Linked DNA regions of Homo sapiens: region 1 is linked to region 2. Evidence: promoter capture Hi-C in 16 types of primary human blood cells and fetal thymus (Javierre and others, 2016). All regions are on one chromosome and are shown on one strand. Each heading gives the region's core, a stretch centred on a gene start or on the middle of the fragment in contact. The rest is flanking DNA. Distances are from core to core; before and after follow the strand shown.

Region 1 (6,295 bases), core at 1,045-3,544, 1.3 Mb before region 2:
CCAGAGGGGATTTCATCTCTTTTCTGAGGTTCATTGTCTCACGGCCACAAGATCAAGGATGCAAACACACAAAGAGTGAGGTTAAGAACAGAAATTTAATAGACAAAATGAAGATAATAGCTATCTACTACAGAGAGGGGTCCTGGAAAAATGAGCTGCTGATCCACTGTTAAATGCAGGCTGTTTTATAGATGAGCCAGTGGGGTGGTGGTGTCTTATCTACACAGGGTGTGAAAAACTGGTCATAATCAGATGTGCCATCTGCATAGGGTGGGAATCTCTGGCAGTCCTCACGCCAATATTTTATTATGCAATTGGGTTCTCTGCCTGAGCTTCTCCATGTTTCCCATTTCCTTCTTATTGTACATGTGCTAACAAAAAAAAGGAAGGTGAAACTTCCATGGTGGACATGCCTGGCCTCCAGGTAGCCCTTTTCTAATGGCACAGCTGCCAGCATTTCCTCATGTAAACTTCCAGCTTTCTTATATATGTTTGCAGCTCGATCTTTCAGGCTGTTCTTTGTTGTTAGAAAAAAAAAATTTTTCTGAGCTGCTTTTAGCTAGAAGGGAAGTTCTGCTGAATACTCATTTGCCCTCACTATCTGCCTAAATAATGTCTTTCTATCTCCTGTATCAATGCTGCTAGTAGATGTTCTTTGGTGCCTGGCCACTGAAGAGTTAGGTATTTATAATAGTGTTTATGGCATGGGATTGTTTGTATCTGTCCTTTTTCAGATGACTTTTCAGATATTCAAAAGGACTACAATATTGTGATCTAAGCTGTATCTGCTTTAGGGAGTAACCCAAGTCCAGTAACATTGTGGTTATACAGACTCATAGAGGTACCATCATGATGATTTGGGACAAGTTCCAGGAGAATTATTTGGATTACCAGGCAGAGATATTTGTTCTCTTCCCTTATTTTCTCCCCCCAAAATGTAGTCTTTCTCTCAGTTCTGAACCACTTTAAGCTGGGAGTAAAATGACATAAGCATCCCTGTGGCCGCCACCACTATGACAATTTTGAGTTGGACCTTAAGCCAGCACAGCACTGTGTCTTGACCAAGGCATGCTGTTAACACTTGCTGACTACTCTCTATGTTTGCTCAAGGTCCTGGGCCTCTACAATCAGTAGGTGCCAAGGCCAACCAGGCCTATGTCTTTTCCTTCAGGGCAGTGAGTTCCCCCATTTCTTTAGTTGGTCCAGAGATGCTCTCTGGTAGTCAGGGTCTACAGTGAAAAATATTAGAGTCCTATCTGATGATCTGTTTTACTTAACCTGAGCTGGCACTCAAAACACAAGATGCAATTCTTCCCATTCTTTCCTCTGTTTACCAAAGGCAGAGAAGCTTCACTTCTTAGCTACCACCACCACAGGCCATGTGGAGAGCTGCCAGACAATGGCCAATGTTTTCTTAAGCCCCAAGGGCTTTTGATATCAGCTTGTGATGAAGGCTGCTTTTCCTGGGATTCAGTTTTCAGGGCAATGTGTTCCCCTCTGGCCCAGGGCAGGTCCAGAAATGCCAGACAAGATCCAAATCCTGGAATCAGATACCCCAAGAGCCCACGTGGTGCTCTACCCCCTGTAGCCAAGCTGGTACCTAAGTTGTAAGACAAAGTTCCCTTTACTTTTTTCTCTACTTTTCTCAATTAGAAAGAGTTTTACCCTATGGTCACAGCAACTAAGAATCTACTAAGTCTCACTTAAAACCAGCAAGTCTAAGAGGCTCACTTAAGGTCCTCAATGAAGTGCCCATGTATTGCTGTTAGTTTTTCAGGGTCCAAGTTCTCCTCAGTTAGCAAGTGATGAATGCTTCCAGAAATGGGGTTTTTCCTTCAAGATTTTGGGTTTCCCTCTGGGCCACAATTTGTCTAGAAATGTAATCCAAGAACTAGGGCCTAGAACCTCACAACTCTGACCAGTGCACTATTGTGCTGTGGCTGATTGTATCCAAGATGTAAGACAAAGTCCTCCCCCACTCTTCCCTCTCCTCTCCTCAAGTGAAAAGAAGAGATCTCTTTTGAAGCCACAAGCTATGCCGTCTGGGGCTAGGGAAAGGGTACTTCCATCACTTTCTTAGCTGCCACAGCTGGTGCCCCACTAGGTTGTGTAACCCCTCTCCTTGTTCACTGTATCTGGGCTCAGTTCAACCATGGGGCTCACCTAAGAGTTGAAGTAACTATGGTCTAGACTGCCTTTCAGGTTTCTTAGAGACCCAGAGTATTTTATCCCTCGGTGGTGAGGCTTTCCGAAACTCAAGCTCTAACCACTGGATCTGGTAATTTCTTTCTAGTTAGGGCTTGTTTATATGCTCCTTCTGTGGGTGGGTGTCAGCTGAGTTTGATCCTGTTTTCATTTTTGCTCTAACAGCACAGCACTGAGTTAAACACATCAAAATTGCTGATCTCTCTCTCCTAAAGTGTCCAGAAGTCCTTTCTACACCATGCCACTGCTGCTGGGGTTTGAGGGAGATGTGGCATTTGCAATTCAAGACTGTTTTGCTACCTCTTTAGTACCTCTTTCATTGATATGAAGTTAAAACTTAGTACTACGAAAGCTCACCTAATAACTTAGTTTTTATGAAGGTTGTGTGTGTGTGTGTGTGTGTGTGTGTAGATAGTTGTCAAATTTGTTTCTTTGCAGTGAGGACATTCAGCGCAGCCTTTTACTCCACCATTATGTTCAACAACCCTCGACATTGACAATTTTTGTATGTTGCACATTCCTTGCATCTCAGAGATAAATCCCAATATAGGAGGAGGTTCCAAGATGGCCGAATAGGAACAGCTCCAGTCTACAGCTCCCAGCAGGAGTGACACAGAAGATGGGTGATTTCTGCATTTCCAATTGAGGTACCAGGTTCATCTCACTGAGGTTTGTTGGACAGTGGGTGCAGGACAGTGGGTGCAACCCAATGAGCATAAGCCAAAGCAGGGTGAGGCATCACCTCACCCAGGAAGTGCAAGGGGTCAGGGAGTTCCATTTCCTAGCCAAGGGAAGGTGTGACAGATGGCACCTGGAAAATTGGGTCACTCCAACCTTAATACTGCACTTTTCCAACAGTCTTAGCAAACGGCACACCAGGAGATTATATCCCGTGCCTGGCTTGGAGGGTCCCATGCCCACGGAGCCTCACTCATAGCTAGCACAGCAGTCTGAGATCGAACGGCAAGGTGGCAGTGAGGTTGGGGGAGGTGTGCATGCCATTGCTGAGGCTTGAGTAGGTAAACAAAGCCACTGGGAAGCTTGAACTGGGTGGAGCCCACCGCAGCTCAAGGAGGCCTGCCTGCCTCTCTAGACTCCACCTCTGCGGGCAGGGCATAGCTGAACAAAAGGCAGCAGAAACCTCTGCAGACTTAAATCTGCCTGTCTGATAGCTTTGAAGAGAGTATTGGTACTCCCAGCACGGAGTTTGAGATCTGAGAACGGACAGACTGCCTCCTCAAGTGGGTCCCTGAACCCCAAGTAGCCTAACTGGGAGGCATCCTGCAGTAGGGGCAGACAGACACCTCACATGGCCCAGTACCCCTCTGAGATGAAGCTTGCAGAGGAACGATCAGGCAGCAACATTTGCTGTTCAGCAATATTTGCTGTTCTGCAGCCTCCACTACTGATACTGAGGCAAACAGTGTCTGGAGTGGACCTCCAGCAAACAGCAACAGACCTGCAGCTGAGGGTCCTGACTGTTAGAAGGAAAACTAACAAACAGAAAGGACATCCACACCAAAATCCCATCTGTATGTCACCATAATCAAAGACCAAATGTAGATAAAACCACAAATATGGAGAAAAAACAGAGCAGAAAAGCTGAAAATTCTAAAAATCAGAGTGCCTCTCCCCTCAAAAGGAACACAGCTCCTCATCAGCAATGGAAAAATGCTGGACAGAGAATCACTTTGACAAGTTGAGAGAAGGCTTCAGATGATCACACTTCTCCGAGATAAAGGATGAAGTTCAAATCCAAGCACAAAGAAGCTAAAAACCTTGAAAAAAGATTAGACAATTGGCTAACTAGAATAACCAGAGTAGAGAAGTCCTCAAATGACTAGATGGAGCTGAAAACCATGGCATGAGAACTATGTGATGAATGCACAAGCTTCAGTAACTGATTCGATCAACTGGAAGAAAAGGTATCAGTGATTGAAGATAAAATGAATGAAATGAAGTGAGAAGAGAAGTTTACAGAAAAAAAGAATAAAAAGAAATGAACAAAGCCTCCAAGAAATATGGGACTATGTGAAAAGACCAAATCTATGTCTGATTGGTGTACCTGAAAGTGACAGGAAGAATGGAACCAAGTTGGAAAACACTCTGCAGGATATTATCCAGGAGAACTTCCCCAACCTAGCAAGGCAGGCCAACATTCAAATTCAGGAAATACAGAGAACACCACAAAGATACTCCTCAATAAGAGCAACTATAAGATACGTAATTGTCAGATTCACCAAAGTTGAAATGAAGGAAAAAATGTTAAGGGCAGCCAGAGAGGAAGGTCGGGTTACCCACAAAGGGAAGCCCATCAGACTAACAGCGGATCTCTTGGCAGAAACTCTACAGGCCAGAAGAGAGTGGGGGTGAATATTCAACTTTCTTAAAGAAAAGAATTTTCAATCCAGTATTTCATATCCAGCCAAACTAAGCTTCATAAGTGAAGGAGAAATAAAATCCTTTACAGACAAGCAAATGCTGAGAGATTTTGTCACCACCAGGCCTGCCCTACAGGAGCTCCTGAAGGAAGCACTAAACATGGAAAGGAACAACCAGTACCAGCCACTGCAAAAACATACCAAATCATAAAGACCATTGATGTTAGGAAAAAACTGCATCAACTAATTAGCAAAATAACCAGCCAACATCATAATGACAGGATCAAATTCACACATAACAATATTAACCTTAAATGTAAATGGGCTAAATTCTCCAATTAAAAGACACAGACTGGCAAATTGGATAAAGAGTCAAGACCCATAAGTGTGCTGTATTCAAGAGACCCATCTCACGTGCAGGGACACACATAGGCTCAAAATAAAGGGATGGAGGAAGATCTACCAAGCAAATGGAAAACAAAAAAAGGCAGGGGTTGCAATCCTGGTCTATAATAAAACAGACTTTAAAGTTCAAAATAAACAAAGATCAAAACAGACAAAGAAGACCGTTACATAATGGTAAAGGAATCAATTCAACAAGAAAAGCTAACTGTGTTAAATGTATATGCATCCAATACAGGAGCACCCAGATTCATAAAGCAAGTCTTAGAGACATACAAAGAGACTTAGATTCCCACACAATAATAATAGAAGACTTAAACACCCCACTGTCAACATTAGACAGATCAATGAGACAGAAAGTTAACAAGGATATCCAGGAATTGAACTCAGCTCTGCAACAAGTGGACCTAATAGACATCTACAGAACTCTCCACCTCAAATCAACAGAATATACATTCTTCTCAGCACCACAACACACTTATTCCAAAACTGACCACATAGTTGGAAGTAAAGCACTCCTCAGCAAATGTAAAAGAATAGAAATTATAAGAAACTGTCCCTCAGACCACAGTGCAATCAAATTAGAACTCAGGATTAAGAAACTCACTCAAAACAGCTCAACTACATGGAACTGAACAAACTGTTCCTGATTGACTACTGCGTATGTAACGAAATGAAAGCAGAAATAAAGATGTTTTTTGAAACCAATGAGAACAAAGACACAAGGTACCAGAATCTCTGGGACACATTCAAAGCAGTGTGTAGATGGATATTTATAGCACTAAATGCCCACAAGTGAAAGCAGGAAAGATCTAAAATTGACACCCTAACATCACAATTAAAAGAACTAGAGAAGCAAGAGCAAACACATTCAAAAGCTAGCAGAAGGCAAGAAATAACTAATATCAGTGCAAAACTGAAGGAGATAGAGACACAAAAAACCCTTCAAAAAATCAATGAATCCAGGAGCTAGTTTTTTTAAAAGATCAACAAAATTGATAGACTGCTAGTAAGATTAATAAAGAAGAAAAGAGAGAAGAATCAAATAGATGTAAAAAAAATCATAAAGGGAACATCACCACCAATCCCACAGAAATACAAACTACCATCAGAGAATACTATAAACACCTCTACAAAAATAAACTAGAAAATCTAGAAGAAATGGATAAATTACTCGACACATACACCCTCCCAAGACTAAACCAGGAAGAAGTTGAATCCCTGAATAGACCAATAACAGGCTCTGAAATTGAGGCAACAATTAGTAGCCTATCAACCAAAAAAAGTCTGGGAGCAGATGGATTCAC
Region 2 (6,408 bases), core at 918-3,417:
TGTATGCATTTGTCAAAACGCATAGAACTGTACACCAAAAAGTGAATTTTACTATGTGTATGTTTTAAAAATAAAAATTTTAAAGTTTAAAAGGGATATCTTACCTATCATATTGGCAAAAATCCAAAAGCTTGACACTACATGCTATTAGCAAGGCTGTGGGGAGTCAGGCACCCTTTATATTAATACGTTGCTGGTGGGAAGGCAAAACGTTACAACATCTATAATTTGGCAATATCTAAAAAAACTACACATATATTTATCCTTTAATCCAGCAATCCCACTTCTAGTAACCTACCTTGGAGAGAGACATCCAGCAATATGAAAATATGTGTGCACAAAGTTATTCATTTCAGCATTATTGAAATTGAAATATTCTTGAAACTACCTAAATATTCCAACATAGGAGATTGACTGAATATACTATAGCACATATACACCACAGATTTTGCAGCTGTAAAAAAGGAATGAGGAAGACTTATGTAAAATGATAATGGATTTTTATGCTACATTTGTATAAAATAGAGAAATAAGAAAACATACAGGTATTTGCCTATTTTTGCAAAAGGAAACACACAAGATAAACCAGAAAGTAATGAAATCGGTTACCTATAGGAATTGGTGGAAATGGAATGCAACAGTTAGGGGAGGGAATGACACTTCTCTAAGTACACTAGTCTGTTTAGTTTTGACTTTTGGAATAATGTTAATATTTTCAATAGTCAAAATGTATAATCAAAGCATTTAGTTTTACACGATGAAAAAGTCTTAGAGATGAATAATGGTGATAGTTGCACAACAATGTGAATGCCATTAATGCCACTGAACTGTATGTATTTTATTTTTTTTGTTTTGGGACAGGTCTCAGGCTAGAGTGCAGTGGTGCGATCTTGGCTCACTGTAACCTCCGCCTCCCCGGTTCAAGCAAGTCTCATGCCTCAGCCTCCCGAGTAGCTGGGATTAGAAGCATGTGCCACCATGCCCAGCTAATTTTTTGTATATTAGTAGAGACGGGGTTTTGCCGTGTTGCCATTTCTTTTCTTTCTTTTTTTTCTTTTCTTTTCTTTTCTTTTTTTTTTTTGAGACGGAGTCTTGCTCTGTCACCAGGCTGGAGTGCAGTGGTGGTATCTTGGCTCACTGCAACCTCCGACTCCCTGGTTCAAGCGATTCTGCCGCCTCAGTCTACAGAGTAGCTGGGATTACAGGCACATGCCACCACGCCCAGCTAATTGTTGGTATTTTTAGTAGAGATGGGGTTTCACCATGTTGGCCAGGATGGTCTCGATCTCCTGACCTCGTGATCCGCCCACCTCGGCCTCCCAAAGTGCTGGGATTACAGGCGTGAGCCACCGCGCCAGGCCTAACAGCTTTCTTTTCTTTCTTTCTTTTTGAGACGTAGTCTCGCTCTGTCGCCCAGGCTGGAGTCCAGTGGCACGTTCTCGGCTCACTGCAACCTCCGCCTCCCGGGTTCAAGTGATTATTCTGCCTCAGCCTCCTGAGTAGCTGGGATGACAGGCGCGCGCCACCACGCCGGCTAATTTTTGTATTTTTAGTAGAGACGGGGTTTCACCATCTTGGCCAGGCTGGTCTCGAACTCCGACCTCGTGATCCGCCCACCTTGGCCTCTCAAAGTGCTGGGATTACAGGCGTGAGCCACCGCGCCCGGCCAATAGCTTTCCAAAGTTATTTTATCACGTATTTATCTACATATTACAGAAGTTTTTACTGTTCTTGCAACTTTTCTCTAAACTTGACGTTATTTGAAAACTAAAAGCTAAGCCAATTAGTATAGTAGTAATAGCAGACAAAAAAAATGAGAGAAGTAAAGGAAGTTTTGGGGGAACAGAAAGAAGAAAGAGCTAGTGTGGAGATACTAAACCGAAGCTTGTGGAACTTGAACGCCATTTTGAAGCTAGTTCCTTAGACGATTCGGTCGAAGATCTGTCTCTCGGCTGCCCTCTATAGAGCTCTAAACCTGGCTTCAAGGAGTTCTTTCATTCTTCATTAGATACCACCCACCATACGTCATTTTATAAAGCCGGAAACTACATTTCCCAAAAGGCCTTTATTTTTCCTCGCGGGAAAAGGGATTGCAATTACTATAGGTTTTACAGGTATCGCGAGATTTCGTCAAATCTCATTACGGATCCCGGCTGAAAGCCATTTTGTTTTTCAGCTCACTTCAAGGGTACCTGAAGCGAATTGGCACCAAAGCAGCAGCTGTATTGCCGCAGTTCTAGCTTCACCTTCACGATGTTTCCCTTGGTCAAAAGCGCACTAAATCGTCTCCAAGGTGAGCAAAAATTATGACAAATCATTTACAACAACCTTATATCAATGTGTCCTCGCGGCCTCTCGTGTGCTTTCCTTTTACGAACATCTCGGCCTTCTAATCTTGAATGCTGTCTGTCTCCCATCTCGTCCCAAGTCATTGGGATGATGTCCTTAGCATTGGCTTTATCACCCAGTATTTCTGTTTCGGTTTCCAGCTCTCTTTCTGTTATCGGAGTGATAGTCTAGCCCTGCTTTTTAATTCTTCAGTAACCTTTGATTTCAGGGAAGGACATTCTTGGTAGACACCTCGTTCCTTAAGTGATGTCCTACATTTTAGCTTTGGGGATATGTTTACTCCTAACCCTGTATAGAAAAATATCTTCTCCAATTCCTATTACTGTAATAGACGGAAACTGTAAATCTAGCTCTTCACCTGGTTTAATTGCAGGGAAACAACCCAAATGGTATCGATGCAGCTTTGAAGTTATTTGTGGATTAACAATGTTAGCTGGCCAGGCGCGGTGGCTCACACTTGTAATCCCAGCACTTTGGGAGGCCAAGGCGGGCGGATCCCCTGAGGTCAGGAGTTCGAGACCAGCCTGGCCAACATAGTGAAACGCCGTCCCTACTAAAAATACAAAAATTAGCCGGGCGTGGTGGTGGGCGCCTGTAATCCCAGCTACTTGGGAGGCTGAGGCAAGAGAATCGCTTGTACCCGGGAGGCGGAGGTTGCAGTGAGCCAAGACTGCTACTGCACTCCAGCCTGGGCAACAAGAGCGGGACTCCGTCTCGAAAACAAAAACAAAACAATGTTAGCTGTCCTGAAGGCAATCGTGGTCATTTTTTTCTTATCCAAAGGTTGGGCAGGTACAGGGAGTTTTGAGACCAGCATTATGTAGAGAAAATGCAATAGATTGAGGAGAACAAATTAATTTTCATACTTGATTTGCACCGAAGGTGACCTTGAGTAACGTGGGCAGTTGTTACACAATGAAGGTGACCCGTAATTACTATTTAGTTTGTTTAGCCATCTTTTGATTTTCACTTAATAGAATCATTGGAGGATATTATTAGATTGTGTCCTAAACTCTTAAGCAACTTTGAAAATAACCACAAAATATTAGCTGGACTATTTTCATATTCCCAAAGTAGCATTTATTATCTCTTTTACTTTGGGCATATGATTTAGCCTCTCTCAACCTCAGTTTCCTTCTTTGTAAAATAAGTAATTTGTAAATAATGCCTACTTCATGGGGTTGTTGAGGATTATATGAGATCACCAATGTGTGGTAATTAAACAGTTGTCACAGAGGAGAGGTCTGATGAAATCCACCAGAGTTACATGAGTGTGTTGAAGTTATGAGATGTTGCAGAATTTTTTGGTAGTCTTAATTTCTTTGCTCTTTGAGCAAATAGGGCCACCTTGTACCTCAGGAAAGGTTTTTTGTTTTTTTTTCAGCGTGGAATTCACATGCCCACTTTTTATCTTTTCTGGAGCAGAATATATTATGAAATATTTGTAAATTTGCCTATCCCGGTGTGACTAAAAGATGAAAAGGGAAAGCTATGTAAGACAGTTAGAAGATCTGATAATGGTCTAATAACTATCATGAAGTAACCCATTGTACCATGTAGAAATATTCATTGCTAGTGAATGGGCAACATTGCAGTTTCTTTTTTTTTTTTTTGAGACAAAGTTTCGCTCTTGTTGCCCAGGCTGGAGTGCAGTGGCTCAATCTTGGTTCACTGCAATCTCCGTCTCCTAGGTTCAAGTGATTCTCCTGCCTCAGGCTCCCTAGCTTTTCATTATATATGTAAGTACCTTTGGAGGCTCTTTAAAACGATAAGAACCTGCCCCTTAAATTGGACAGGAAGAAAAAAAAAAACAGCTAGAAACAAGCTTTTTCCAGTCTCGGCTGTTTCCCAAGCCCTCCTTTTTAGTTCTTCCAGGGGCCGTTTGAAAACTTTTGTTCTTCTCTTTCTACTGGTATAATACTAACAGCAAACTTTATCATTCTGCTCAAAAACTAAGTCCTTAGCTAATTCTGCTTCCTTGTACGATACTGATTTTTATCTACATGTGTAATCCTCTAGACTGGAAGTTACTTGAGGACAGGATCTCTGTCTTATACTTTTTTATATACCCCATTTCTCATTTTTTATTTTTAGGGACAGAGAATTGCTCTGTTACCCAGGCTGGAGTGTAGTGGTGTGATCATAGCTCACTGCATCCTCTAACTCCTGGACTCAAGTGATCGTCCGGCCACAGCCTCCTGAGTAGCTGGGACTACAGGTGTGCATGCACCACCATGCCCGGCTAATTTTTAATTTTCAATTTTTTTGTAGAGACAGGGTCTCACTATGTTTCACAGACTGGTCTGAAACTCCTGGCCTCAAGCGATCCTCCTACCTTGGCCTCCGAAAGTATTGGGATTACAGATGTGAGCCACTGTGCCTGGCCCATTAATTTTTTAAAAATCAAGATTACTCTAGTTGTGGCGAGTTTTTTTGTTACTGTAGTAATTTTACAGTCATAAGCATTTAGTGTGCTTTAATTTGAAGTTCATTTGAGTTCATTTGCCCTTGTATGTTGTAAGTTGTTGGGCTCTATTGAGTAAACTTTAATGAAAATTTAAGTCATAAGTATTCAAATTAATCAATGGGAGCCAAAATTTCAGGGGTTATGCAAATACCACTTTGTAGAGAATGTTACTGACATCATTCATTCTTTGCTTTTTTCCCCCAACACTATTATGAAAACTCTCAGACATACTGAAGAGTTGGAAGAATCGTATGAACACCCATATACCCACCACAAAGATTCTACAGTTAACATTTTGCTATTTGTTTTATCATGTATTTGTCCATCTGTCAATTCATCTTATTTTTGTTGCATTTCAAAGTACACTGCTTTAATAGCTACAATATGTTTTAACATTTTATTGAACTACATAATACTGTAAAATTAACTTCCTTGGCTTTCCTGATTGGCAGTATCAATCACATATGTTTTCTTTACCTGACAATTGATAATATGCTTCTGTATTCTTTTTTCGTTTTCCTGTAAGTTCGAAGCATTCAGCAAACAATGGCAAGGCAGAGCCACCAGAAACGTACACCTGATTTTCATGACAAATACGGTAATGCTGTATTAGCTAGTGGAGCCACTTTCTGTATTGTTACATGGACATATGTAAGTACTATTGATTAATAATTTCTGTTTCAGATGTTTTTCATTCTCAGTCTATGCATTCAAAGTGTCTTAACATAGTAGTGTACATATCTAGTTAGGAGGGACTTGAGAGATTGTGTAATCTAATTACCCACACAGTGCAGGGGATTTTTTCCCCCCAGCATTCATCCATCTTCTGTTCTTAACATTCCCAGTAATAAATTGCTTACTGGATCACAAGGCAGCCCTTTCCATCTTGTGTAGCTGTTTTTTTTGTTTTTGTTTTTTTTTTTTTTTAAGAAGAAGTCTTGCTGTGTCCCCCAGGCTGGAGTGCAGTGGTGCGATCTTGGCTCACTGCAACCTCTGCCTCCTGGGTTCAAGCACTTCTTCTGCCTCAGGCTCCCAAGTAGCTGGGACCACAGGTGTGTGCCACCAGGCCTGGCTATTTTTTTTTTTTTTTTTTTTTGAGACGGAGTCTTGCTCTGTTGCCCAGGCTGGAGTGCAGTGGCGCGATCTCGGCTCACTGCAACCTCTGCCTCCTGGGTTCAAGTGATTCTCCTGTCTCAGCCTCCCAGGTAGCGGGATTACAGGCGCCCTCCAGTACGCCTGGCAGATTTTTGTATTTTTAGTAGAGACGGGGTTTCACCATGTTAGTTAGGCTGGTCTTGAACTCCTGACCTCAGGTGATCCGCCCGCCTTGGTTTCCCAAAGTGCTAGGATTACAGGTGTGAGCCACTGTGCCCAGCCTTGTGTAGCTGTTAAAAGGATCATATGGTGAGTTAAAATCTGCCTTTTTCCTATGCTACCCATTGTTCATTGAAGCACAGAAATTCTGACCCACTTCCATATAACAGCCATCAGATAATAGAAAATTGCTATCATATCTCCTCAATTTTCTTTTTCAAATTAAACATCCTTAGTTCTATCAGTAATTTTTTTGTTCATGGTTTCCAGGATTTTTA

Evidence for each region. Contacts are between HindIII fragments. The CHiCAGO score rates a contact against its expected background, and 5 or more counts as called.
Region 1: a contact is called between a fragment that was not itself captured here and the fragment with the promoter of COX7B in region 2, in 1 of 17 cell types (endothelial precursors). The highest score is 5.6, in endothelial precursors.

The regions. Positions count from the first base shown.
Region 1 is chrX:76,556,798-76,563,092 of GRCh38, forward strand. No RefSeq gene overlaps it. Among named protein-coding and RNA genes, the nearest start is that of MAGEE1, 130 kb to the left of the region's middle. The HindIII fragment of the contact is 1,897 bases long and covers 1,347-3,243 here.
Region 2 is chrX:77,897,301-77,903,708 of GRCh38, forward strand. COX7B (cytochrome c oxidase subunit 7B) reads left to right here and starts at 2,168. Exons shown (of 3, transcript NM_001866.3): 1 at 2,168-2,293; 2 at 5,343-5,467. The coding sequence starts at 2,254. RefSeq lists an enhancer at 2,122-2,371. The HindIII fragment of the contact is 2,290 bases long and covers 1,883-4,172 here.